Linked DNA regions of Homo sapiens: regions 1, 2, 3, 4, 5 and 6 are each linked to region 7. The links are contacts of gene promoters, found by promoter capture Hi-C in blood cells and fetal thymus (Javierre and others, 2016). All regions are on one chromosome and are shown on one strand. Each heading gives the region's core, a stretch centred on a gene start or on the middle of the fragment in contact. The rest is flanking DNA. Distances are from core to core; before and after follow the strand shown.

Region 1 (3,578 bases), core at 277-2,776, 1.5 Mb after region 7:
AGCCGGCGCGGTGGCGGCGGGCGCCAGTGGTCCCAGCCACTCGGGAGGCCGAGGTGGAGTGTCGCTTGAGCCCAGGAGTTCCAGACAGGCCTGAGCAACAGAGCCAGACCCCGTCTCCACAAAGAAAGAAACAAATGGGCCAGAGACCCAGAATGCTTTCTGTAGCCTAACCTAATGTTCAAAACCAGGGCAGACCCAAGCCATGGAAAGCTTGAGGGAATAAAATAATATTCTGCTGCGGCCAAGAATAACAATGCTAATTCCTGGATAAGGGGATTTAAAATGATGTTTAACAACTTCTGGTCTTTTAATATTGACCCAAGTTTAAAAACATGTTCATATAAAAAAGTTACTGGAAGAAATTTATAAATGTAACTGGTGGTTATTTTTAGATGACAGAATTAAAAGTGATCTTTTTGGTATTTTTTCCACAACGAGCACGTGTCATTTTTATGTTAATTTCATTTTATGCGAAATGCTCCAGCGCAGTACAGGCTAGTGGGTTCAGGGTGGCTGTGACTAAGTAATGTAGATGGGGTACCTTAGACAAAGTTTCCAGACTAGAGGCTGGAAGTAAGAGGTCCGGGTGCCCTTTTCCACACTGCAGACCACGGACTTTTCCGGTTTCTGAACAAGTGAGACAGGCCGGCTAAGGACATTTATAATCTCCATGGGTGAGGGCCCCACCCTCATGACCATCTAATCTTGATTACCTCCCGAAGGCCCCACCTCCTAACTTCCTAATACAATCACTTCTTGGGGGAAGAGGGTGTTTGGAATTCCACCCCCCGCCCTTTTTTTTTTTTGGAGACAGTCTCACTCTGCTGCTCAGGCTGGAGTGCAGTGGTGTGATCTTGGCTCACTGCGACCTCCCCCTCCCAGGTTCAAGCCATTCTGCCTCAGCCTCCAGAGCAGCTGGGATTACAGGCCCAGCTAGTTTTTGTATTTTTAGTAGAAACGGGTTTTCATCATTTTGGCCAGGCTGGTCTCGAACTCCTGACCTCAAGTGAACTGCCCGCCTTGGCCTCGCAAAGTGCTGGGATCGTCAGAGGCAAGTGAACCAGAGCACCTTCATCTTAAACAGGAGCTGGGTAAGATGAGCCTAAAACCTACTGGGCTGCATTCCCAGACAGTTAAGGCATTCTAAGTCACAGGATGAAATGGGAGGTCAGCACAAAATACAGGTCATAAAGACCTTGTTGATGAAACAGGTTGCAGCAAAGGAGCCAGCCAAAACCCACCAAAACCAAAATGGCGAAGAGAGTGACTTTGGTCCTCACTGTTACACTCCCACCAGTGCCATGACAGTTTAGAAATGCCATGGCAACATCAGGAAGTTACCCTACATGGTCTAAAAAGGGGAGGCATGAATAATACACCCCTCGTTTAGCATATAAGCAAAAAATAACTATAAAAATGGGCAACCAGCAGCCCTCGGCTGTTCTGTCTATGGAGTAGCCATCCTTTTATTCCTTTACTTTCTTAATAAACTTACTTTCATTTTGCACAGTGGACTCACCCTGAATTCTTTCTTGCACGAGATCCAAGAATTCTCCCTTGGGATCTGGACTGGACCCCTTTCCTGTAACAGAATTACAGGTATGAGCCACAACACCCGGCCTGGAATTTCCACGCATGATTTGGTGGCTGGGAGCAGACACAAACATTCGTTCATACATGATAGAATCCTTCAGGTCTCAGATTAAGCATTTCATCTTCTGAAAGGCCTTCCTTAATCAACTTCTCTACAGAAAGTTCTTCAATTTCCCCATTATGCCCTTGCCACCGACTCCAGTGGGCTTCCCTCCCACTGTCGCAATTGCATGTTTGCTTAGGTGGTGGTTGTCTCCCTATCTGCGCTATAAAATACTCTCTGTTAGTGAGCCAAGACTGTGCCACTGCACTCCAGCCTGGGCGACAGAGCGAGACTCCGTCTCAAAAAAAAAAAAAACAACTCTGTGAAGCTAGTGTAGAGGCCATGTCTGTCTTGTTCACCACGGAGTGCCTAGCACATAGCAGAGTTCCTTGCACATAAGCACACAATAAGAAGTAAATTTTAGGCACAGTATAATAAGAGTAAATAATTAGGTATAATTACTATGATGGCAAAAATGTGAATAAACTGTTAAGGAAAATGGACAAGGAAATTACTTTCTGGCAGAACCTGGGGGAAAAAAACTTCCTGGGAGATATATTTTTAAATAAATGTATAGATGCTCCTTAATTTACAATGGGATTACATCCTGACTAGTCAAAAAAATTTTAAGTTGAACCATTGTAAGTCAAGGACCATCTGCACTGTGAAAAGTTCAAACACATGGAATAATAGAATCAACTCCCATGTACAGGTTGTGCATCTTTAATCTGAAAATCTGAAATGCTCCAAAAGTCCAAAACGTTGAACAACACTGACATGAGCTCAAAGGATATGCTCATTGGAGCACTTCAGATTTCAGATTTTCCTATTAGAGATACTGAACTGGTTAACAAAATGCCCATATTCCAGATTCCAAAAAACCCTGAAACACTTCTGGTCCCAAGTGTTTTGGGTAAGGGATACTCAACTTGTTCCAGTCATTTAGCTTCAGCAATTACCGTTTGCCAATCATGTTTCATCTGTTCCTCTCTAACTTTTTTTTTCTAGAATATTACTGAAGAGATCTCAGATATGTCAGTTCACTCCTAAATAAAACTTTTCAGTGTATCTCTGTGTTTATGGTGTGCATCTCAGGAAAATTTTTTAAAAAATGCATAACCACATCATACTTACGCTTAGACGTCCTTAATACTCTTTGATAGCTGTTTTAGACTCACATTTCCCTGACTGCCTCACCAAAGCTTTTTATAGTTTGTTTAACCCTGCTTTCAAACTTGGGCCTACATCTTGCATTTTGTTATTGTCTCTCTTTTTTTTTTTTTTTTTGAGATGGAGTTTCACTCTTGTTGCCCAGGCTGGAGTGCAATGGCGCGATATCTGCCCACTGCAGCCTCTGCCTCCTGTGTTCAAGCAATTCTCCTGCCTTAGCTTCCCAAGTAGCTGGGATTACAGGTGCCCTCCACCATGCCCAGCTAATTTTGTATTTTTAGTAGAGATGGGGTTTCTCCATATTGGTCAGGCTGGTCTTGAACTCACGGCCTCAGATGATCCGGCTGCCTCAGCCTCCCGAAGTGCTGGGATTACAGGCGTGAGCCCCCGCACCCGACCACATTTTGTTATTGTCTCTTTTAGTCTTCTTTAAACAACCCCCCAACCTCTACCTACATAGACACCCTCCCCACACACACCCCTGCCACCTTTTTTAACATCTGTTCATCAAACCAGGTCATTTTTGCCTGTGGAACGTTACACATTCTGGATCTGTGTAATTGTTTCCTTGTGGTGCAGTTTCCCTGGTTTTTCTATTTCTTGTATTTGTTACAATCTGGCATTTAGATCTAGGTTAAAACAAAACAAAACCATTTACCAAAAATTCCTAGTAAGTGGCAGACTCATATTTGAGCCCAAACTGTCTGACTCCAGAGTTAGGCCTCTTACCCACTATTCTGTTCTGTCTCTTAGAGTTCCACAGGTAGAAAGC
Region 2 (3,680 bases), core at 1-2,500, 1.3 Mb after region 7:
ATGAGAGTACCTGGGTTCTTTGTTCTGTTCTGCCTACTTGCATGCACTTTGAAAATTCTCCATCATGAAAAGTTAATAATAATCGGAGATCTCCAATTCCTCCCTGTAAAACATGCCATTGGATTCTTTACTTCATGATGGCATCATTCAAAGGTTTACTTTAAAAGATATGCCAATCTATTAAGTAGAAATGTCACTCCTTAGTGTAGACTATAGAGAATGTGCCCTCTCCATGCACAAGTGCAGGCGCTCAGCACGGAAGCCCATCTGGAAGGACACACACCTGGTATTCAGCAGATCATTATGGAGCCGCCTATGTGGACCTGGTGCCAGGCGCTGCCCCAGGCTCTAGGGACTCAGCCCTGAGTGAAAGCAGCACTCCACAGTTAGCAAAGGGTGGGGCGTGTGTGAATGTGAGTGAGTGTGTGTTGGGGGAGGAGAGGGAAGAGGAAGAGGGAACCTATACTTTGTCTTCTTTTTGTACTTATGTATGGTTTGTTTCTGTTACAAGGAATTATTTTTGGAATATCAAAATGAATTTTCAAAAAGTGGTCTTCATTAGGTCATATACTTTCCTCTGGCGTTTTAAATAGAATTTGATTTGTGGAAGTTCATGTTTCTACACGTCTTAATAACAGATGAATTGGCTTCCATGAGGCAATCAATGAATCAATAGTTATTGATCCTCTGAATATGTGCTTTGTGGGCTATGAAGGATAGAAATCAATATGCTACTATCAGCATTAGGGGAGACAAGACAAAGACCCTGACAATTAAATAATAGTACAATCCAGCCACAGAAGGGTTATCCTTACACTCAGTACAGAAACAAAGGCCAAGTCTGGTCTGGAGCCTGCGCCAGAGGGGTCCCCATTGCTGGTTGGCTGACCTGGACCTGGGGCTTGTTCCAGCATTTCCTGTGGTGTCTTTGTTTTCTTCTTCCATTTAGTAAAGGATATGTTAAGTAACCTAAAGCTATAGCAAAAACATAAGTGATGCGTGCTGCATAGAAGTCTACAAAGTAAAAAGTAGAAATTGCTTAGAATTGTAACAGTTTTTGTATTTTCCTGATCTGTTGCAAGAAATTAGAGTTGCTTGAGCAGCCAGAACGTAATTTGCCTTGATGTAGAATGTGGGTGTTTGTTAGGCCTTCTGATTTGTGTGTGTGTTTTGACTTTGTTTGGAAGGACAGAAAGTTTCCCGTTAGGCCTGCAATTGACCCACTTGGTTCTCACTGTGAGTTTAGGAGCTTTTGTTTGTTGTTGTTCCTGACCGGTGTGTCCCATGTGCTGTGAGGGCACAGCCCAGTGCTGCAGCAGGGCTGTGGCGGGGCTCTGAGCCCTGGGCCATCTTTGAGGGCTGAGGGTCTTGGCACATGTTCATTGTTGTGCTGCCAGGAGCCGCCTGCCTTTGCGCCTGCACAGAACCACCCAGTGGGTGGATGCACATTCTTTTCCCCCATCTGGATCACACTTATCCTGTATAGCCCCCTCCTTCTGAGGGCCCACAAGGAGCTGAGCCATCTGGGCAGGTCACAGTGCTGGCACGTTTGGTCCCTGGTGGGTGATGCTCCTTTGTCTTAGGTTCCTGACCTGAAGGAACTGCTTACCTTTCAGGGCCCTCCCAACTCTTGCACTTGTCCACTTGATGAAGTTTCACTGCTTCCCCAGAAAACACGTATTGAATGTCAGTCATGGCTGGGGTGCCGGGGAATATGGTCAAGTGGAGGGAGATGGGAGGCTAATGAGAGGGGAGATAGATAGTTCTAGGTCCAGCCGCTTAAGGGGCCAGTGGTTTGTTGAGAGGGTGGTTGTGATTTAAAATCAGGTGGCCCCTGTGCCTTGCTGAGCCCTAGATGTAGGGGAGGTGAGGAGTGGTGAGGGGACACTTAGGCACACATGAGCAATGGTAGGAGGGCGGTGCGGGGCGGGCCTTGCAGGAGCTCGGGCAGTCTCCTCGGGTGGGAGGCAGGCTGATTGCAGGTGTTCTGCGAAGACGGAGCCAACAGGACTGTGATGGATCCCATGAGGGCTGTTGCAGCAAGCAAGGGGTCCAGGATGACCCAAGAGTCTTGGATCGGGTGTTGGAAGGGTAGAGTTGCCATCACTCTGAGACTGAGGTCTTCAGGGGAGGAGTTGTGAGGATTCAGAGGGATGGTGTGGCTCTCAAGATAGTACAGGTGAGAGTCCTACTGAAGTGTCCCAGTGGAGGTGGGGAGGAGGAAGTTGGAGGAAGGGATCTGGAGTTTGGGGGAGTGCTCTGAGCTGGGACCCTAATCTTGGCAATATATTGTAGCTATAGAGATGACATTTTGAAAGGGAGTTTGGATGAGACCACTAGGGAGTTGAGGTAGATGGAAAAGAGAAGAGGTCCGAGGACTGAGCCTGGAACAAGAAACCAAGAAGGTGCGGCCAGCGAGGTAGGGGATAACCAGAGGGTTCTGAGGGCATCCTGGAGGCCACATGCAGCTTGCATGAGAGGGAGGGTGACAGCGGAGGTCACGAAGGTGAGAACCGAAGACAACCTGGGGTTTATCCATGTGGTCTGGGATGGTGGGCTGAAGTATGGGGTGAGTTTCTTGAGAGAAGGAAGGAGGGGAATTTGGGACAGCAGGACCCTATTGCTTTTTCAAGAATTTTGCTGCCGTGAAGGGCAGTGGGGAAGTGGAGGGGGGTCATGGGCAGATAGGGCTGAGGGAGGCCCGCTTGGAAGGGTTGCATCCTGAAGAGAAGGATGGAGCAGAGTGGGAGGAAGCCGTGAGGTGGGTGGGAGGGACAGAGACTGGCTGGGGCCGCCCCTTTGGTGAAGGATCCCCATGAGCTGCTGTTGACTCTCGGTGTGTGCTGTGCCTCCTCTTGGCCCCGGGGCCCACAGATGCATGGGGCTGTCCCATCGCTGGTGGACTGTGAGCATTTTCCTCATCACCTTAGTGAGTGCTGGCATTGTCTCCAGGCCGGGCAGGGATGGCCTGCATTTTGCCTGCAACACTGACTCTCAGTTCCACATGGACTGAACGCTGGAGGAATGGGAGTGTGCTTCTCTGAGAGTGGTCCCCGCACCAGCGGCATTGCACCCCTGGGAAATGCAGAGTCTCCCTGGCATCTGGAACTGTGGGGTGGGACCAGCCATCTGTTTGTTGTTGTTGTTGTTGTTGTTGTTGTTTTTGAGACAGAGTCTTGCTCTGTCGCCAGGCTGGCATGCAGTGGTGTGATCTCAGCTCACTGCAACCTCTGCCTCGTGGGTTCAAGCCATTCACCTGCGTCAGCCTCCTGAGTAGCTGGGACTACAGGCACACGCCACCATGCCCGGCTAATTTTTTGTATTTTAGTAGAGACAGCGTTTCACCATGTTGGCCAGGATGGTCTCGATCTCCTGAGCTCAGGTGATCCACCCTCCTCGGCCTCCCAAAGTGCTGGGATTACAGGTGTGAGCCACGGTGCCCAGACTCAGCCATCTGTTTTAACAGGCTCCCCAGAGGCTTTTGAACTGCTGCCCTAAGACAGGCCCACACTTGGGAGTGGGTGGGACAGGCCCATGGGGAGAAAGTAGCGGTCCCCAGGTTGGATGCACCTTAGACTTGGGGTGCTTTCCACGTGGAGTCCCACTAGAGGCAATGCTGTCCTACTCAGTTTTATTGACATGAATTATGACAAAATGTATTCACTTCAAACACAGCTAAC
Region 3 (3,339 bases), core at 840-3,339, 1.4 Mb after region 7:
GTTGCTCTACCTGCATTTGCAGGTGGTGTTCTAGCCAGCCCTGGGTGTGCCCCGGGTGGCTCACCCGCAGGAGCAGGAGCAGGAGCCGCCAGGGTTAGGAGTCAGCCTGGGAGTGAGCTTGGAACGTGCCAGTCAGGCCATTCCCTGGGTGTGACCTTTTATGACTGGGTTTTTTACATGAGTAAGCTTGCACTTAAGTGCTGTTTTATCTTCTCCTCTTTGCATTTAATAGAATGTTTATCTGTATTTGTCAATAAACATCGACTTGTGTGGATTGTACTGCCGGCATAGCATGCTATAATATTATTGTTAATTTAACCTGTTTCTGATGGGTGCCTATTTGTTTTTTGGTATTTTTCCCTCAAGATGGAGTCTCGCTCTGTCGCCCAGGCTGGAATGCAGTGGCATGATCTTGGCTCACTGCAGCCTCCGCCTCCCGGGTTCAAGCGATTCTCCTGCCTCAGCCTCTTGAGTAGCTGGGATTACAGGCGCGAGCCACCACACCCAGCTAATTTTTGTATTTTTAGTAGAGATGGGGTTTTGCCATGTAGGCCATCCTGATCTTGAACTCCTGACCTCAGGTGATCTGCCCGCCTTGGCCTCCCAAAGTGCTGGGATTACAGGCTTGGGCCACCACGCTCGGCCCATCTGATGGTGCATATTTGGATGACAGATTTTTACTGATAAGGCACCATGGAGATAAACATCCCTGGGCAGGGCATCTCTCTGAGCTTGCGGGGTTGCTGAGGCCTTGGAAATACACCTGTTAGACTCTGTAGACATCAGAGGCCAGTTTCCCCCTCCCCAGTAACTGTGGCTGGTCCTCTTCCCTGCCTGGGAAGATGTTGGCTGTTTGTCCTCCGAGCCTGGCTGCTGCCCCTCTGCAGGCTCCTGCCCTGGGTGGGTTTTGCGTCTGGACAATAGCCACCCCTAGAGAGGCAGTCACAGTCAGTTGTCTCCCTCTGAAGCTTGGAGGGCATCTAACTCACCCAGTAAGTGGGGTCCAGGCCCCTTGACACAGTGTGTATGTGGTTGGGGAGCTGTCTGGAGGGTTTGCTCTTTGGCTGCTGGGGAGCAGGGACAGATGCTTGGAGTTTCTGGCCCCAAGTGGGAGAGTATTGCTGAAAACTTCCTCCTAGTTCTGAAATTTTGTGGTGTATGTTCTGACCGTCCAGTAATTCCCTTCCCTGTGTGAAATATTTCCAGAACTTTCTGTCATTTGCAGATGCTTTGGGCATGACTTGCCATCCCAGCCTGAGGCCCGTCCTCCTCAGCCAGGCTTGTGACCGCTCCCACCCACAGAGCTGCCCGTCAGGGTTAAGCAGCAGCTTTGGAGGCTTTGATACAGGTTTTAGGGTTACAGAGTTTTTAATGAGGTTTTCTTGTTATGTGCATTTTCAGAGTGCTACTATTTGGCAAAGCTTGACCCCAAACAGAAACCCACAGCTGCATTCTTCTGAGCACGTAACTGGCCACTCCATCCACCATGTAGACTTCAGTTTGCAAACCGCGTAATTTCTTTCTTGTGCTGCTTTTTAAAGCTAGCAAAAAATTATTGCACCATGCGCTCTGGAATGGGCTGTTAGCAGCGTGCACTTCTCTGGAACAGCATGCTTCCCGGGCTTCTGGAGGTCGGGTACGTCCCTCGGCCACTGTCACCCGGCTGGGACCCAGGAACCTGCTCTTCATGAAGTGCTCACCAGGCTCCAAGCTTGAGATGAACTTGAGATTCTGTTAAGAAACCGATTTGAATGAGCACAGCTCAGCCCAGGTGTGCTCAGGAACTTGCTTTGGCCCACCTGAGTTTGTCTCTGATGCAGGGCGGGGAACTTTGCTTTCCATGCCTGTAGTGTCAGACACTGCCCCCTACCCCCCAACACTGATATGACTTCCGGAAGTTTCCAAGCCTTGCTTTCTTAGCTGCAAAAGAGGGATGGTGACAGTGTTGCTGGGTGACCTGAATTACTGTCTTCACAGCCCCCTCTCCTGGCCCCAAGAAGGCGCTCACCCTGATGGGGATGTCGATGCTCTCCTAGATGTCGTCTGCTTTGGGTGAAGCTAGGATTAGAGGCTTCTTGGCATCCAGAGTCAGCCGAGGTGGCCGCCGGCCTGGTACAACTCCTGGTGGTGGGTCTGGGAGGGCTGACTGGGCAGGGAGGTTAGGAGAGCCAGGCTACATGCCACTTCTGTCCAGTGCCCATGCCCAGGCTGCCCCGTGGGTAACCTGCATTTGGGGAAGGAGCTGGGGGCTGTGCTTGACTCTTCGCACTCTTGGACGAACCGCTTAGTGGGCCTGTGACCCAAGGCCAGGAGTGAGCGTGGAAGGGGAGACCCCCCCCACAGGGACCTAGGTCCATCCTGTCTGTCTTCTGGACCTCTGGAGCAGTCATGCGGAGCCTGCAGTGGTGTGGTTGGCAGGGTCCAGGGGCCCTGAGGGACCCAGGGGGCAGAGCCCTAGAGAAGCTTTGCGCTGGCTGCTGACAAGGTGGAGATGGGGACCTAGTGGCTGCTTTCTTGCGTATTTCCCTATGGCCAGCCCATACTGGGATCTGGTTTTTTGCTCTTCTGGGGGATGTCTGTCACCCTGCCCCTGGAGGTGGGTTGGCCGTGTGCACCATGGTCCTGTAGGTGGGGCCGGGGGCCATTGCCCTGGTGCAGGAGAAAGCAGTCTTGGAGACAGTGGGCCAGGCCGTGTGCAGAGTGGCTGGGAGCTGGCCTGCGCTGCATGACCTTGAGCAGGCTCCGTGACCTTGAGCAGGCTCCATGCCTGTGCCTCATTCTCCTCCTGCCTGTGATGAAGGGGCCGGTTCCTCGTGGTTCTGAGTTCCTGTGACTGGCTATTTGTAGCCCTGAGATCCACGCTGGCTGCAATGGAGGATGTGTGCCTCCCCTCTGCTGCCGCCTGGCACCCTCTCTGGTGGCTGGGGCATGGCACTGGGCTCTTGGCAGGTCATATGGGTCTTGCCCTCGTCCTTCCAGTTCAGGTTCCCCTGCAGGGCCAGGGACTGTGTTTGGGCAGTGCTGGGCAGCATCGAATGTGAGGCCCAGAAGGAAGCTGCATGGGCCATGGCGGGGGCCGCCTGGAGCTGGTGGCCAGTGGTGGTCCTCAACTTGTGACCACTGAGATGGTTGGGAAGAGCCTGCCCAGGGAATTGTTCAGTGTGGGGGCCGTATCCCTCCATGACAGGTCAGCGGTGGTCAGACGGACAGCAGCAGGCCCTCAGTGACACACGCAGGTGAGAAGGGCCTGGGTGTTGGAGCCAGCGTCTCAGGTCAGCCCTAAGCCACCCACGCCTACAGGGCAGAGTCCACCCCTCAGGGCCAGGCGGGCCCTCCACA
Region 4 (3,334 bases), core at 286-2,785, 1.4 Mb after region 7:
AATTTTTGTAATGGGGGCTATGCAACTGGGCAGTGATAAGTACACTCTGGTTACATTTCCATTCATGGGTCACTCTTGCTTCCCTGGGGTTAATAACTTCATTTTCTAATCTGTGTATCTGTTCTAATTCATCTTCAGACTCTTTGCCAGAGCCTTAAAATGCATTTCTGAGAACAAAGCCACAGATGCAATCAGTAATCCACTGTGCCTTCTCCTGCCCCGCCCCATTGGAGCCTCTGCCTGCTCCCCAGCTCCCCGCTCTCTCTGCCTCTCCTCCACTCGCTTCCTAAGAAAGAAGACCTGGGAAGCAGCTCCCTTGTTTTGGTGGAGCAAATCCTGCAGTAGCTTTCTGAGAAAGAAGCTGAGGGAGGTAAAACATTTGAGAACTTGTAGGTTTGAAGCAGTGTTCTGTACTGCACTCATACTGATTGATAATTTGACTAGATGGGGAATTCTAGGTATGAAGTCATCTTCCCTGGGATTCAAAGGCGTTGCTTTGCTGCCTCCAGTGGGGCACTCAGAGGTAATTTCTTTGTGGCCTGTTTCTTTCTGGAAGCCTCATGTAACCCTCCTTTCAGGATGATGTGTCTGGTGTGGGCGGGTTCCTTTCATTCACTGTGCTCCTGGGCGCTGTTATTCCGAAAGCTCAGGTCCTTCTGTTCTAGTTATTTTCTTTTTATTACTGCTTTAATAATTCCTCATTTTTTTTCCCGGAGCTCCTGCCAGTTCATGTGGGACTCCTGAATGGATCGTCCAGTTGTCTGTTCCCCTTTTTTTCATCTCTGCTACGTGTGTAACTTCTAGGAAACCTCTTTAGTTTACTTTCCAGCCTTTCATTTCTTTCACCACATTTTACTTTTAAGCTTGCTTCCATTTTCCAGGTTGTGTTTCTTTGTGACTTCTTCCAGGCCCTGGCTCAACTCTGGTCTGAAATTCAAATCAGTCAGCTCTGGTGGTGTGTGACAGGGTTGGTGGTAAACACAGCCACTGTTAAAAATTAAATATGTGGACTTAAAATGAAACAAATTATATTTAAAAAGGTAAAATACTCAGAACTCATTCCTTTCTAGTATCGTGTGCATTCTACTGTTATCTGTGTGGTTGCAGTTACTCGCCTCTTGTATCTGAGATGGCAGTGCCATGTGCTGGGTGCTGCTGTGCACCTCTCCCCAGTTCAGCGGCATCATTCTGGGAGCTCGAAAGCAGCATTTACACCACAGAAATCAGCGTGTGCTGCAAGCTGGGCACCCCCCACCTTACCCCACCGCCCACCCCCACTGCCCACCCCGTGGAGAGCCAGTTGTTACAGCTTGCCAGCACACCGTTGGTTACTGCTCACCTATTAATAGATTCCAAAGTCACCTCCCTCCTCCATTTTTATCCTTAAAGTTCATATCCTTTTAGAGTCATTTCATTGGGTTTCCAGAGAGAGTTGAAATAAATCTCTGTGTTCTCCCATCTCCTGGCTCTGGACTCTTAGCCTGGCCTGACCCCAGCATGCTTATTGGGATACGCAGAGGACTGATTGCAGTTGGGGGATCTAGATAGGAATTAGATCCCATGTAAACCATATCTCTCCAACAGTGATCCAGCATCTTTGGTATTTGACCCGAAATGAACTGGGCCTTGTGGGTCTTGCGTCTCTGCTCCTAGCCCTCCGGTGTGGGCACTTACTTCCTTAATGTGTCCAGGCCATGAACCCTCACAGAGGCTGCTTTTGTGACTGGCAAGGAACTCCTAGGCCTGTTCCTTGTTGTTACTGATTTTAATAGACTTTATTTTTTAGATCAACTTTAGGTTCATAGAAAAATTGAGAAGGTGGTACAGAGATTTCCCATATGCTCCTTCCCCACACATGCACAGCCCCCTCATTTTCAGAATCCCCCCACAGAGTGGTGCCTTTGCTACAGTCGGTGAACCCACATAGGTACCTTATCACCCGACATCTGTATCTGGACATTAGGATTGCCAGTTGGTGTTGTACATTCTGTAGGCTCGGACAAATGCATACTGACATGTGTCCACCGTGGTAGTATCCCTGCCAGCCTAGTTTCCCTGCCCTAAAAACCCTCTCTCTCCCCAGCCCCTGGGAACCACTGATCTTTTTACTGTCTTCATGGTTTTGCCTTTCCCAGAATGTCCTATAGTTGGGATCATGCAGTATGTACTTCTACAGATTGGCTTCTTTCTCTTTAATGATAAGCTTTTAAAGTTCCTCTGTGTCTTTTCATGGCCTAATGGCTTATTTATTTTTAATGCTGAGTAACGTTCCCCTGTCTGGATGTAGCGGTTTGTATACCCACTCGCCTGCCCCTGGGCTGTCTCCACGGCTGGCTTCCTGTGTGGTTGGCACGCCTTACCTCTGCAGGCTCCGCATCCGTCTTCAGAGCGCCTTCTCCCATCCCATGGCAGCTCATTGCTGTTTCTTTTGTGTGTATGGACCTTTGCCCAGCTGGGGGACATGCCACGAGAGAGGTTGTTTCTGCTTTATCCTTGCTGTGCACAGCTTGGCACTGGCTGGGACCTGGGTCTGGGTGTGGCTTGGAGGAGCCAATGTCAGTTCATTGGGTTTCACTGGGCTGGGACTGCAGCACATGGACCAGGCCACTGGTGTCCTTGCTGCATGCATGACAAGAACCCTTTCCAAGGCCCTGCCTGCCGCAGGCCTGCCTCCTCCTCCTCCTCTAGTGGCGCGGGAGCCAGTGTGAAGTCTCTCACAATGCGAGTGTGCAGTCCTCTTCTGCTTTAAGGGATGGGGCAGCCTGGCCACGTTGTCACTTCTGGCTCTCACTGGCTGTATGATGTTTGTCACATGGAACGGGAGAAAGGACGCATCCTTAAAATGCCAGGGGATCATTGCTCCAAAAGGAGGGGTAGCTGGTTTTTAATGGGAGCTTTTCTCTTGAGGGACTGTGGATAGCTTGTCACCACTGTTACCATCCTTTCTTATGTCTGTCATTGCATGCAATGAGGACTGAGAAGAGCAAGGGCAGCAGGACCCTGGAGGGGCATGGGATGTTTGTGGGTGCCAGGCCCTGGGCTGGTTGCTTCCACGCAGCCCCACTCCAGGGCGTGGGTTCTGTGGGGCCAGGACTTGTTTGTTCCAGGCTTAGCAGGAGCTCCATTCGTATTTGTCAGAGCAATAAACATTATTATTATCAGATGCTAATTGATTAGTTATATAGTAATATGATTTAGCAGATAATTCTCACAACTTTGTAGGCCAAGTAGGTCAACTTCTGTTTTGCAAACAAAAAGTGACACCATTATGGCAAGGAGCTGCAAATGTGCCTGGAATTCAGAAGATCTGAACCTATAATTTATTGAGTCTTCT
Region 5 (3,648 bases), core at 1,126-3,625, 1.2 Mb after region 7:
GATGCAAATTTGTCCCATGCAAAAACAAAACAATGAAATGCAACCCCTACATCACACTGTAGAAGAAGACTAATTTGAAATGGGTCATAGATCTTAATGTGAAAGCTAAACTATGAAACTTCTAGAAGAAAACATAAGAGAAAATCTTGGTCACCTGGGGTTAGGCAAAGATTTCTTAAACTGGACCCAAAAAACTAGAACTATATATTAAAAATTTAATAAATTGAACTTTATCAAAATTAAGAATATATGCTCTTCAAAAGACACTGTTAAATGAAAAGGCAAGCTATAGACTGTGAGAAAATATTTGCAAATAATAGAAAAGACTTTTATCTAGAATATATAAGAGCTGTTACAATGCAAAATGAGAAGATAAACAAGGTAATTTAAAAAAATAATCAAAAGATCTGAGCAGACAGTTCACCAAGAAGATATCGGATGGCAGATAAGCACATGAACAGATGTTTATTATCATCATTAGACATTAGGGAAATGCAGTCAAAACACAATAAAGTGTAACTACACACTCACCAAAATTAAAAAGACTGGTAATGACAAGTGCTGGTGAAGACGTGCAGAGACTGGAACTCTCACACATGGCAGGGGAGAGCATAAAATGCTGTGGCCACCTCAGAAAACCTTTTGGAAAACAGTTTCTTAGAAAGTTAAAACATATATTCATCACATGACACAGCAATGCCACTGCTTGGTATTTACCAAGAGATGAAAATACACGTCAACAGAAAGACTTCTGTGTAAATGTTTGTAACAGTTTTGTTCATAATATCCCAAAGCTAGAAGCACCCCAAATGTTCACTGTGGTTGGATGAGTAAACAAACTGTTGTAAAGCCATTCAATGGAACACTAGTCCACAATAAAAAGGAAGAAATTACTGAATCACTTAACAACATGGATGAATCCTAAAAGCAAGGGGCTGTGGAAAAGAAGCCACCTACACGAGGCTATATACTGTATGAGTCCACTAATACGAAATTCTAGAAAAGGTCAAGTGGCAAAAACCCATCAGTGGTTTCCAGGGGCTGGCAGGCAGGGAAGGTACGAGGGAAGTGACTGGAGTGATGCCAATGTTCTCTATTACAAGTGTGGTGGTGGAAACAAGACTGAATGTGTTTGTTACAACTCTCTGTATTGTATCCTTAAAATTGTTGAATGTTATTGTGGTATAAATTATACCCCAATAAAACTGACTCAATACAGGAGAGACAAGAAGTATTTTTAAGCATATTCCTAATTTAAGATCACTAAATTGAAAGTCGAAAGGAAGATGATAGTTTGTGGATTATGTTAATTTAAAACAAGCTTGTCCAACCCTCAGCTGGCAGACCGCCTGAGGCCCAAGGCGGTTTTGAATGTAAACCAACACAAATTTGTAAACTTTCTTAAAACATCATGAGGTGTTTTTTTTTTTTCCTTGCTCTTCAACTATCATTAGTGTTAATGGATTTTATGTGTGGCCCAAGGCAATTCTTCTACCAATGTGGCCCAGGGAAGCCAAAAGATTGGACACCCCTATTTAAAAGGTTTAAATTTTAACAATAAACAATTTAAGGGTCCCAAAGCAAAAAAATAGGTGCACACCGCCATCTAGTGGTCTAATTCCACAATTACAATATCATTCTGGCTTACCAGTTTAAGATAAAAAAAGTCCAGTAAAAAATTATTTCCCAAAAGTAATTTTATAACATTTAATATCTATTAGCAATAGGAAAAGTTGAAAGCCCTAAGAAGGGGAGATTATTACCTACATTTGGGCAACAACAAAAATCTACTTTAAAGACATTCCCATTTCTATTAGGGAAAAAAAATTACCTGTTGTGAAAATTATTATTTACCATTTGTCCAGAATGTTCAGTCAATGCAAAATATTTAAAAATAAATAAAACAGAAATAAGATGTGTAATTATGTAAAAGAAGGAAATAAAACTATCACAACTGGAGGATAGTGGAATAACACTCAAAACACAGCTAATCATCTTAAAATTCATATATGCATCAAGTGATTATGTATAAGATTAAACGTTACAAAATTAATAGCTTTTCTTTTCTTTTTTTTTTTCCTGAGACAGAGACTTGCTCTGTCCCCCAGGCTGGAGTGCAATGGTGAGATCTCAACTCACTACAACCTCTGCCTCCCAGATTCAAGCGATTCTCCTGCCTCAGCCTCCGGAGTAGCTGGGATTACAGGCACAAGCCACCATGCCCGGCTAATTTTTGTATTTTTAGTAGAGATGGGGTTTCACCATGTTGATCAGGCTGTTATCGAACTCCTGAACTCATGATCCACCAGCCTCAGCCTCCCAAAGTGCTGGGATTACAGGCATGAGCCACCCCTCCTGGCCCATTAATAACTTTTCTATAACACAGCAATCACAGAATATAAGCTATAATGGGGGAGATATTCCATTAATAATAGCAGAAATAAAAATACATTAAATGCCTATGATCTTTAAAGCAATATAGACAAACTAAGGAAGAAAACCATCAAAATTTACTGATTGAGGTACAAAAAAGTTTTCTTTGGTAAGATATATATTATTTCTTAATAGAAAAACTGCATTTATCTTAGATGTTTTATGAAACTCCAGTCAAAAATTAGTACAGTATCTTTTTAGAACTTGTTCATACAATTGAAGTTAATCTAAATACTACAAATGTATGCACACATTACTAATAGAATACATTGCGGTGCATGCCTTTTTTTTTACTTTGTATACTTGGCATCATATGGAATGCATCTTTTTTTGTATTTGAGACAGAGTCTGGCTCTGTCACACAGGCTGGAGTGCAGTGGCGCAATCTCAGCTCACTGCAACCTCTGCCTCCTGGGTTCAAGTGACGCTCACGCCTTGGGCTCCAGACTAGCTGGGACTACAGGCATGCGTGACCACATCCAGCTAATTTTTGTCTTTTTAGTAGAGGTGGGGTTTCACCATGTTGGCCAGGCTGGTCTTGAACTCCCGATCTCAGGTGATCTGCCCTCCTCGGCCTCTCATAGTGCTAGGATTACAGGCGTGAGCCACTGCACCCAGCCAGAAGACATTATTTTGCAACTTGCCTTCTTACAAAGAACACTACCATTTTTAGATGCATTTGTGTAACCGCCTAAAGGGTTCTGTTGTAGACACATACCCTAAATTGTTCATTCTTCTGTGAATGGATATTTACATCATCCACTTTTTTACAATACAAACAGTGCAAATGTAACCATTCTTTTTGTCTCTCCTGGTGCACAGGTGCACATATCTGAGCACAGACTTGCTAGGTCACAGGGCATGTATACATTGAGCTTTCCAAAGAGGCAGTGCCCAACCCCCGGCCATAGAATTATCTCCTCTTGAAAGACTAGATAGTAATATATGCTACCGACTAAATTATGCCTTCCTCTTCATTCTAATGTCGAAGCTTCACCCCTAGTGGGATGGTATTTGGAAAGTGGAGCCTTTGGGAGAGATGAAGGTTGGATGAGGTCACAATGGTAGGGTCCTCATGACAGTATCACTGCCCTCATAAGAAGATGAAGAGACTTCCCCCCACCCCTGGGCACATTGAGAAGGCAGCCGCTGCAACCCAGGAAGTGGGCTCTCGCCAGGAACCAACCTTGCCAGCACCTTGATCTTGGACTTACA
Region 6 (3,765 bases), core at 512-3,011, 1.2 Mb after region 7:
CTGCCAGCTCCCTTCCCTGCCCACTATCAGAGGCCACCACTATTCTGACTCCCGAAGATCTCTTGAATCTTTCCGAGATCATGCAGCCATTATTTACCCCCAGCACCACTGTGGCAACATCTCCACAGGTCCTTACACTGTCCGCATGGAGCCACAGTGAGTGACAAATAACAGTAACAAATGCAGATCCGATGGTGTCATCTTCCTGGTCTACATTCTTGGTGACCTGCCGTTGTGCTACAGCTATGAAGCCCAACTTGGCAGCCACAAGTTGCATGTGCTATTGAAATTTTATTTAATTAAAATCTAAAATTCAGTTTCTTGGTCACACTAACCACATTTCCAGGGCTCAGTAGTTACATGCGGCTACCACACTGGTCACTACAGATACAGAGGTTTTCTCTCTGTGCAGCAAGTTCTGCTGGACGACGCCGAATTGAAACATAAAGCAAGACCTTGAACTGGCCCTCGAGGCCTAGCAGCACCCCCAGCCTCACCTTGCACAATGTTCCCTCACACGCCACCCTCCCATTGCTCCAGTCCTGGCATCCCAGAGTCCCTTCCACCTCAGGGTCTTTACACATGCTGCTCCCTGCACCAGGAGCCCCACCTCTGCCCTCTGCCCCCACACACCTACCTCATCTAGCTGATTCCCCTCCTCTGGTAGAATTCAGAATTCGCTGGTCAGAGATTTCCCTGCCTTCCCAGATGAGGTCAAATCCCCTTGTAGAGCAATCTAATGGCTCCTATACTTATGGTTTAAAGCACTTTAATGATGAGAGCGTTGTTGTAGTTTAAGTAGTGAAGGGTATCATTCATTGCTTAGAGTGTCTTTTCCTAACAAGAATGGAAGCTCTAGGATAGCAGGTGTCTCATCTGTCTTGGACAACACCCAAACCAGTGCAGTACCTGGGACATAGTAGGAGGTAAATACATATTTGTTGAATAAATGAATGAGTTTAGAGGCTGATTCAAACAACATGAGTATCATAAGAGTATTAACACCTAACAAAGAAGGGTTTCCTCCATTCTAAACTCAGAGTAGTAGAAGCTGTGAATTAAATAATGTTTTGACTATCTGCTGTACACTTCATGTGGGATTTGCCGCAAGGACAGGGGAGGGGCCAGAGATAACAGCTTAGGTGGAGAGAACCTGCTGAGCAGCTGCCTGTGAATTGGAGAATGTAGCCAGTCCAAAGCTTTCCCCAAAAGCCTGGGTAGTGAGGGACGTTTGGCTGTTAACACCAGAGGCAAGAGCAAGCCTCTGCTGAAGGCAGGCTATGATCACAGGCCTTTAATATGCATTGCATTCAATAGAATCTTACACTTTTATACATTAGTGCAAAAGACTGAATGTGCCTCCTCTCCCCAAACCATATGTTGAAACCCTAACCTGAAATGTGATTGTATTAGGAGCAGAGCCTCTGGGAGGTGATTGGGTCATGAAGGTGGAGCCCTCATGAACAGGATTAGTGCCCTTATAAAAGAGGCCCCAGAGAATTCACTAGCTCTCTACTCTCCATCACATGAGGACACAGCAAGAAGGCATCATGGTAAACCAGACGCAGCCCTCACCAGACACCATACCTGCTGGTGCCTTGATCTTGGACTTCCCAGCCTCCAGAACTGTGAGAAATACATTTCTGTTGTCTATCAGCCACTCAGCCTATAGTATTTTATAGCATCCTGAACTAACACAGCGATACATACTGTACTGAGTTCAGAGGATATGATAGACTGTCTTGGATTTGCTTCAATGTGAACAGATATCTATAGGAAAAAAATAAACTTCGTCCCCTGCCTATACATACACAAAGAGAAATATGGAATGGATTACAAACCCAAAATAAAAACTAAAGCTATAAATCTTCTAGAAGAGAACATGTGCCAGCTTCACAGGAAAAAGCAAAAACCACAAGAGAAACTATTGGTAAGTCACTTTCATGAAAATATAAAACTATTATTCATTAAAATACACCATTTAGAAAATGAGGAGGCAAGCCACCTATCCGGAGAAAACGTCCAGGGTTGATTCGCATTACTGGTGGTAGTTACAGTCTGTGAAGTGCCTCTGTCCAGGGTTGATTCTCATTACTGGTGGTAGTTACAGTCCGTGAAATGCCTCAGCACCAATTTAGTGAACACCAAACCACGGTTCTTAGGGAAGGGAAGGTTCCTATGAGCCTCTGGTGATAGCATTGTCATCAACCCATCAATGCATAACCTTGTTTGATGTGTGTTTCTATTGAAAGATGCTTTATTTGATCAGCACTGTTGATTCCTTTACATTGAACTCGCAGCCAACACACTTGAATGAAGCTTCTCTAACACACCAGTTTTCTCCATAAGGCACAGCACAGCCTTCTTGCACTTTGGAGCCCCAGACAGCGCTTCAGCACCATGCCGGGGCTGTTACAAACTATGAGATCCCCAACAAAATGCACAGAAACGTGAAAAAATGGGGCACTAAATGGACCGTAAAAAGGACACTCACCGTCCCTGTGGGAGCTGCAGCAAGAAGGTGGGGAGTTGCCCTGTCCATCCCAGCTGGGGCCACACACATCAGACAACTCCAATGTCTCAGGGCTCTGTGTGTGCCCACAAATGGCCACAAAATCGTCCACAGTATTGACTTAGGGGTTATAAGTACATTTTATCAAGTAAATGAATTCAGAAATATGGAATCCACGAAGAATAAGGATCAACTATGACAAAGAATTGGCATCAAAAATATATAAAGGCTGGGTGTGGTGGCTCACTCCTGTAATCCCAGCACTTTGAGAGGACGAGGCAGGTGGATCACGAGGTCAGGAGTTTGTGACCAGGCTGACCAACATGGTGAAACCCTGTCTCTACTAAAAAATACAAAAATTAGCCAGGCGTGGTGGTGGGTGCCTGTAATCCCAGCTACTCGGGAGGCTGAGGCAGAAGAATACCTTGAACCCAGGAGGCGGAGGTTGCAGTGAGCCAAGATCATGCCATTGCTCTCCAGCCTGGGTGACAGAGTGAGACTCCATCTCAAAAAGCAACAACAAATTTATATATATATATATATATGTATGTATATATGTGTGTATGTATGTATGTGTGTGTGTGTATATATATATATATATATATATATATAGAAGTTATACAACTCAATAACAAAAAGACCAACAACGAATTTTTTTTAATGAGCAAAAGATTTGAACACATTCTTCACAAAGGAATGAACACCCTTGGCCAATAAGCACATGAAGAAAGGCTCAGCACGGTTCACCTACAGGAACGTGCAGATTCAAACCACATGAAGGTGCCACGGCACACCCACGAGAGTGACCGGAGTGTGAATGCGCAACAGCGCTCGGCATCGGTGAGGTTGTGGTGGGTTGGTGTAGGACCCCCACATGCGGTTATCGGGAATGGGAAATGGTCACTGCTCTCAAGAGACTTCCCAGCAATTTCCTGTACAAGGTACAAGTAAACATTAGTCACGTCTGATTGAGCAAGTCCACTCCTAGTGCTTACCCAAGAGAAATGGAAGTCCTCTCTCTCTCTCTCTCTCACACACACACACACACACACACACACAGACTTGCACACAAAGTTTCATAGCAGCTTTGTTCCCGGTAGCCCCACACTGGAAACAGCCCAAGTCCAGGGCAGTCTATGGTCTATGATCCCCTCCCCCTGGGCCACTGCAACCTGTGTTGCAGCTCACCCACCCTAGAGGGCAAAGGTGGGGAAGTGCTGGGTGCTGCCGGTGACATCACAACAGCGTCTGAG
Region 7 (3,649 bases), core at 861-3,360:
AGAATATTCATGTTCTTAAATGTAAAAGTACAGAAATATTAATGCATGGAATTACAGGATTCTCTCCAGACTATATTGGAATGGCATGTAACCAGCAGGGTCAACATGTATGTTTACCTTTCTAAATTCTGAGCAATGTCTTTCTCAGTTCTGAAATTTAGATTCTAAATTTTAATTCCAAATTCTGAAAAAGCTTGAATTCCAAAATACGTCTTGGCACAAGCATATTGGATTATAACCATGGGCAAACAATGTGCTAAATAAGTGAAGTTCTACTAAGAAGTCTTCCATTAAAAAAAAGCAGAGAGATTAGACCTGCATTTAGAATATTAAATAGGGGCCTAACAAAGATCAGGGTGATTCATTTCTAAAGTGAAATCTAGCAATAAAATAACGTTTCTACCAATTTCATCTCTCAGGAAAGATAAAGACCTAAAGTATACACCCCATTTTTATCCTAGCTTAAAACTTTCTAGTTATTAAGACTATTATAAAATCCTATTTTATATTTCACTTCAAATACAGAGGCTTAAAAAAAAATCTTCCCACAATCCCTCAGTAGAAAAATCTCTTTTTTCCTAGTGTTCAAATCCAACCTTTTCAAATCCAAGGTAGAAGAGTAAGAGGATAAGACACAAATCAAGTAATTTGATTATAATCTCTCATTCAAATACACTTTAAAGTGCACTTCAAATACAGGGGATAATACAAATCAATTTCTGTTTTAATGCAAGAGTTTTCTAAATACGTTAAAACAAAAGTGCCGTTCAGAACAAAAATGATTTGATAAAATAATTTCAACTGACAAAGATTTCTCACTTAAAACACTTAATAATTTACATGTATTTAAGCCTTTTTGAGAAAATATAATTCTATCTATGCACTGCTCGGACTTTCACTGGGGAGAAGGAGGACATCAATGTATTTAGTTGCATTTAATTAAAATGCTGCCTGTGTGAAGGCAATGAATTTGTCCCTACTAAGACAAAGAAGTCAGATGGTAGAATCAATTCCATTTCTTCCAGGAACTCTTAGGGATTAAATGGTTCCTTTTTTTATTTTTAATACCAAGAATCAGATATGGCACAACATCTTCAACTCTTTTTTTTTTTTACTACACGCTGCAATGCTTTGAACTCTACTTGAGTTCGACTGAATCTTTGCTAAGTCAGGCAAAACTCAAAAAATATTTTGCAACACTGTTTCCAACGTAAAAAAAGATTCAAACTCTCACTTCTCCAATTGTCTTTCTAGTCCTTGAACATTCCAACAAAAGAATGGATTGCATTTATATAGTTTTTAGGTGGGCTTAAGGTTTTGGAGCCACATTGCCAAAAACAGACAAACAGACAAAAAGAAACACCCTTAACTCTTAACTCAAATTTACATTTTACTACATAAAACTTTCTTGCTCTCCAAGTTCATTGGCTAAGTAAATTACTTGACAATGAAAATGTATCCACAAGAGTAATTATGCTAAATTTTAGTAGTGGTTCAGAAGGGTTGTTGTTTGAATGCAACTGCTGTTTCTTTTTGTAGTAAAAGATTTGTCTAAGCTCATAAGACGTCTGGACATTTCTACTTTGAGTAACTTTGATAAACACTGCGGCATTTTCCAGTGGATTCGTGTAAATGGCCAAAGGAAAATGTTCTAGCTCCAAGATCGACTTCCTCGCGCTGTGCCTGATCCCAATCCCGCGTCTCCCGAGGGCCGGGCCGCGACCGCACTTTCCGCGCTCCCTGGGGGCCTGGGCGCCCTGGGGTGCCCGGGTCACTTTCCGCACGGTCTGACCTCCGTCCCCTCCGCCCAGGCCTGAGCCCCTCTCTCCCGGCGCAGCTTCTGGATCCCGAGCGCGGGTAGGTTCAGGAGCGAAGCTGGCGGAACCCACCTGTATTTTATTCACATGGTTTCAGCACTTTTACCTCGGCCGATGAAGGTAGAACAAGAAAGGGCATGAAAGCAGCGCGTCGTTCCCCGTAACCTCCTCTCCTTACCAGAAAGTCCCGGCCGGGTAGGGGACGCGGCCACACCTACCTGCGCCAGGTGAGGCGAGGGCGGGCGCAGCGCGGGGCCACCCGCTCCTCCTCGCTCTCCAGCCGCCGCCGGGGTGGCCTCAGCCGCCGGGCCCGCGGCTCTTCCTCATTTTGGGCAACTTCCTTAACGCGCCCGGGCAGGCGGCCCGCACTTCCTCCCAGTGTCGCGCCCCGCCGCCCTGGCCCGCCCTGCTGACCGCGCCCATGAGCCCGGAGCTGGGCGGGAATCGGCTGAAGCGCCGGGCGAGGCCCGCGGAATCGGCCCAGGCGGCGGCAGGTGTAGAGGAGCCCGGGTGGGGCGCGCCTCTCTCCTCCCGCCGGACAAGGGCCCTTCGCAGGCAGAGAAGGTGGGGCTGCCCGGGACATGGACCGCATCGGTCCCCCTCCTCCCCGCCAGCGCGGTGGCTTCTGTGACTGCCCAGGACCCACAGACACCCAGCGGCCCTTTCCTTTTGCTATGCAGTGCCGGGGAAGAGACTCCACTGCATGGCATATTCCCTGGAGTGTATCTTGGTCACCAAACCAACAAGCTCCAAGCTACTGTGCTGGAGCACTCGGGAGGCCTGGGCAGTGCTGAGAGGGACCCTGTAGGTGAACACCAGACTTCACGGCGCACTAGTGGGCAATGGGGCACGCTGCTTCTGAAGGCTTTAATTATTACAAAAGGCTTTGCTTCCTTCTTACCATGACGGCTCTGACGTCCACAACCAAATAAATTAAACCTATAGCCCTAAGAATGGTTTTGAGATACCCGCCTGATACCCTTCTCCCAACCCATCCCCCTTTTCCTTTTGGACATTCCTCTTTAAAATGTTCCCACAAAACGGCATCCAGACCTTCTTGATAACACTGGTTGGCAGTGCCTGTTTTAAAAAGCTTTACCCTAAGCCAAAATGCGAGAAGCAAAAAAATATATATATAATGTGCTGGATTGTAATTGCCATGGAGAAAATATAGGGATGGGACTATTTACACTTATTGGAGCCCCCAGCCTTTTCTGCTTCCAGGGTTATTGGATTTTCATTCATTTTTGCCATTATTTTTTCTAAACCTGTTAAAAGAAAACTTCAGCAGAATTAAATTTAAAGCAGTTTAATTGAGTAATGAATGATTTGCGAATGGGGCAGCTTCCAGAATCACAGCGGATTCAGAGACTCCAGGGATGCCTCATGGTCAGAACATATTTATAGACAAAAAAAGGGAAGTGACATACAGAAATTGGAGGTAAGGCAGAGAAACAACTGGATTGGTTACAGGTTGGCTTTTGCCTTCTTTGAACACAGTTTGAACACTCAGCAGTGTATGAATGGTTGAAGTATGGCCACTGGGATTGGCCAAGACTCAGCTATTGTTAAAGGCACATACTCCTAAATTAGGTTTTCAATCTTGTCTGCCTATTAAGCTAGGTTACAGTTCATCCACAAGGACTCAAATATAGAATACAGAGTCCTTCTCAGATCATACTTAGGTTGCTTTAACAAACATAAATGGAAGATTTTGATAATGGTTATATTTGCTTATCATTGGACTTAATTTTGCTTCAACTACCCGAAAAAATAGCCATTGTTCCTGAGATGGAGCCTGCAGAATGTCTACAGATGGTTTTCAGAGTTGT

What was found. The method cuts DNA at HindIII sites, captures the fragments that hold promoters and counts their contacts. A CHiCAGO score of 5 or more calls a contact.
Region 1: a fragment that was not itself captured here is called in contact with the fragment with the promoter of SYK in region 7 in 3 of 17 cell types (fetal thymus, megakaryocytes and total B cells); the score reaches 8.6 in fetal thymus.
Region 2: a fragment that was not itself captured here is called in contact with the fragment with the promoter of SYK in region 7 in 2 of 17 cell types (fetal thymus and monocytes); the score reaches 5.8 in fetal thymus.
Region 3: a fragment that was not itself captured here is called in contact with the fragment with the promoter of SYK in region 7 in 1 of 17 cell types (fetal thymus); the score reaches 5.3 in fetal thymus.
Region 4: a fragment that was not itself captured here is called in contact with the fragment with the promoter of SYK in region 7 in 3 of 17 cell types (megakaryocytes, monocytes and erythroblasts); the score reaches 8.2 in megakaryocytes.
Region 5: a contact is called between a fragment that was not itself captured here and the fragment with the promoter of SYK in region 7, in 4 of 17 cell types (neutrophils, fetal thymus, erythroblasts and 1 more). The highest score is 16.9, in neutrophils.
Region 6: a fragment that was not itself captured here is called in contact with the fragment with the promoter of SYK in region 7 in 5 of 17 cell types (neutrophils, monocytes, fetal thymus and 2 more); the score reaches 13.8 in neutrophils.

The regions. Positions count from the first base shown.
Region 1 is chr9:89,306,879-89,310,456 of GRCh38, reverse strand. LOC105376136 (a long non-coding RNA gene) reads left to right here. Exons shown (of 3, transcript XR_930101.4): 1 at 1-1,091; 2 at 1,511-1,599. Among named protein-coding and RNA genes, the nearest start is that of CKS2, 2.5 kb to the left of the region's middle. The HindIII fragment of the contact is 2,628 bases long and covers 213-2,840 here.
Region 2 is chr9:89,491,054-89,494,733 of GRCh38, reverse strand. All of the region lies in intron 1 of SEMA4D (semaphorin 4D), which reads left to right. Among named protein-coding and RNA genes, the nearest start is that of SEMA4D, 5.2 kb to the left of the region's middle. The HindIII fragment of the contact is 5,004 bases long and covers 1-3,680 here.
Region 3 is chr9:89,428,001-89,431,339 of GRCh38, reverse strand. All of the region lies in intron 2 of SEMA4D (semaphorin 4D), which reads left to right. Among named protein-coding and RNA genes, the nearest start is that of SEMA4D, 68 kb to the left of the region's middle. The HindIII fragment of the contact is 752 bases long and covers 1,714-2,465 here.
Region 4 is chr9:89,408,017-89,411,350 of GRCh38, reverse strand. The region is part of intron 2 of SEMA4D (semaphorin 4D); the gene reads left to right. Among named protein-coding and RNA genes, the nearest start is that of SEMA4D, 88 kb to the left of the region's middle. RefSeq lists an enhancer at 395-554. The HindIII fragment of the contact is 1,340 bases long and covers 866-2,205 here.
Region 5 is chr9:89,574,466-89,578,113 of GRCh38, reverse strand. No RefSeq gene overlaps it. Among named protein-coding and RNA genes, the nearest start is that of GADD45G, 29 kb to the left of the region's middle. The HindIII fragment of the contact is 2,103 bases long and covers 1,324-3,426 here.
Region 6 is chr9:89,556,531-89,560,295 of GRCh38, reverse strand. It overlaps LOC124902207 (a long non-coding RNA gene), which reads right to left. Exons shown (of 2, transcript XR_007061655.1): 2 at 3,153-3,765. Among named protein-coding and RNA genes, the nearest start is that of GADD45G, 47 kb to the left of the region's middle. RefSeq lists an enhancer at 547-716. The HindIII fragment of the contact is 1,120 bases long and covers 1,202-2,321 here.
Region 7 is chr9:90,800,280-90,803,928 of GRCh38, reverse strand. It overlaps SYK (spleen associated tyrosine kinase), which reads right to left and starts at 2,110. Exons shown (of 14, transcript NM_003177.7): 1 at 2,036-2,110. RefSeq lists silencers at 1,972-2,131, 2,152-2,361. The HindIII fragment of the contact is 2,717 bases long and covers 196-2,912 here.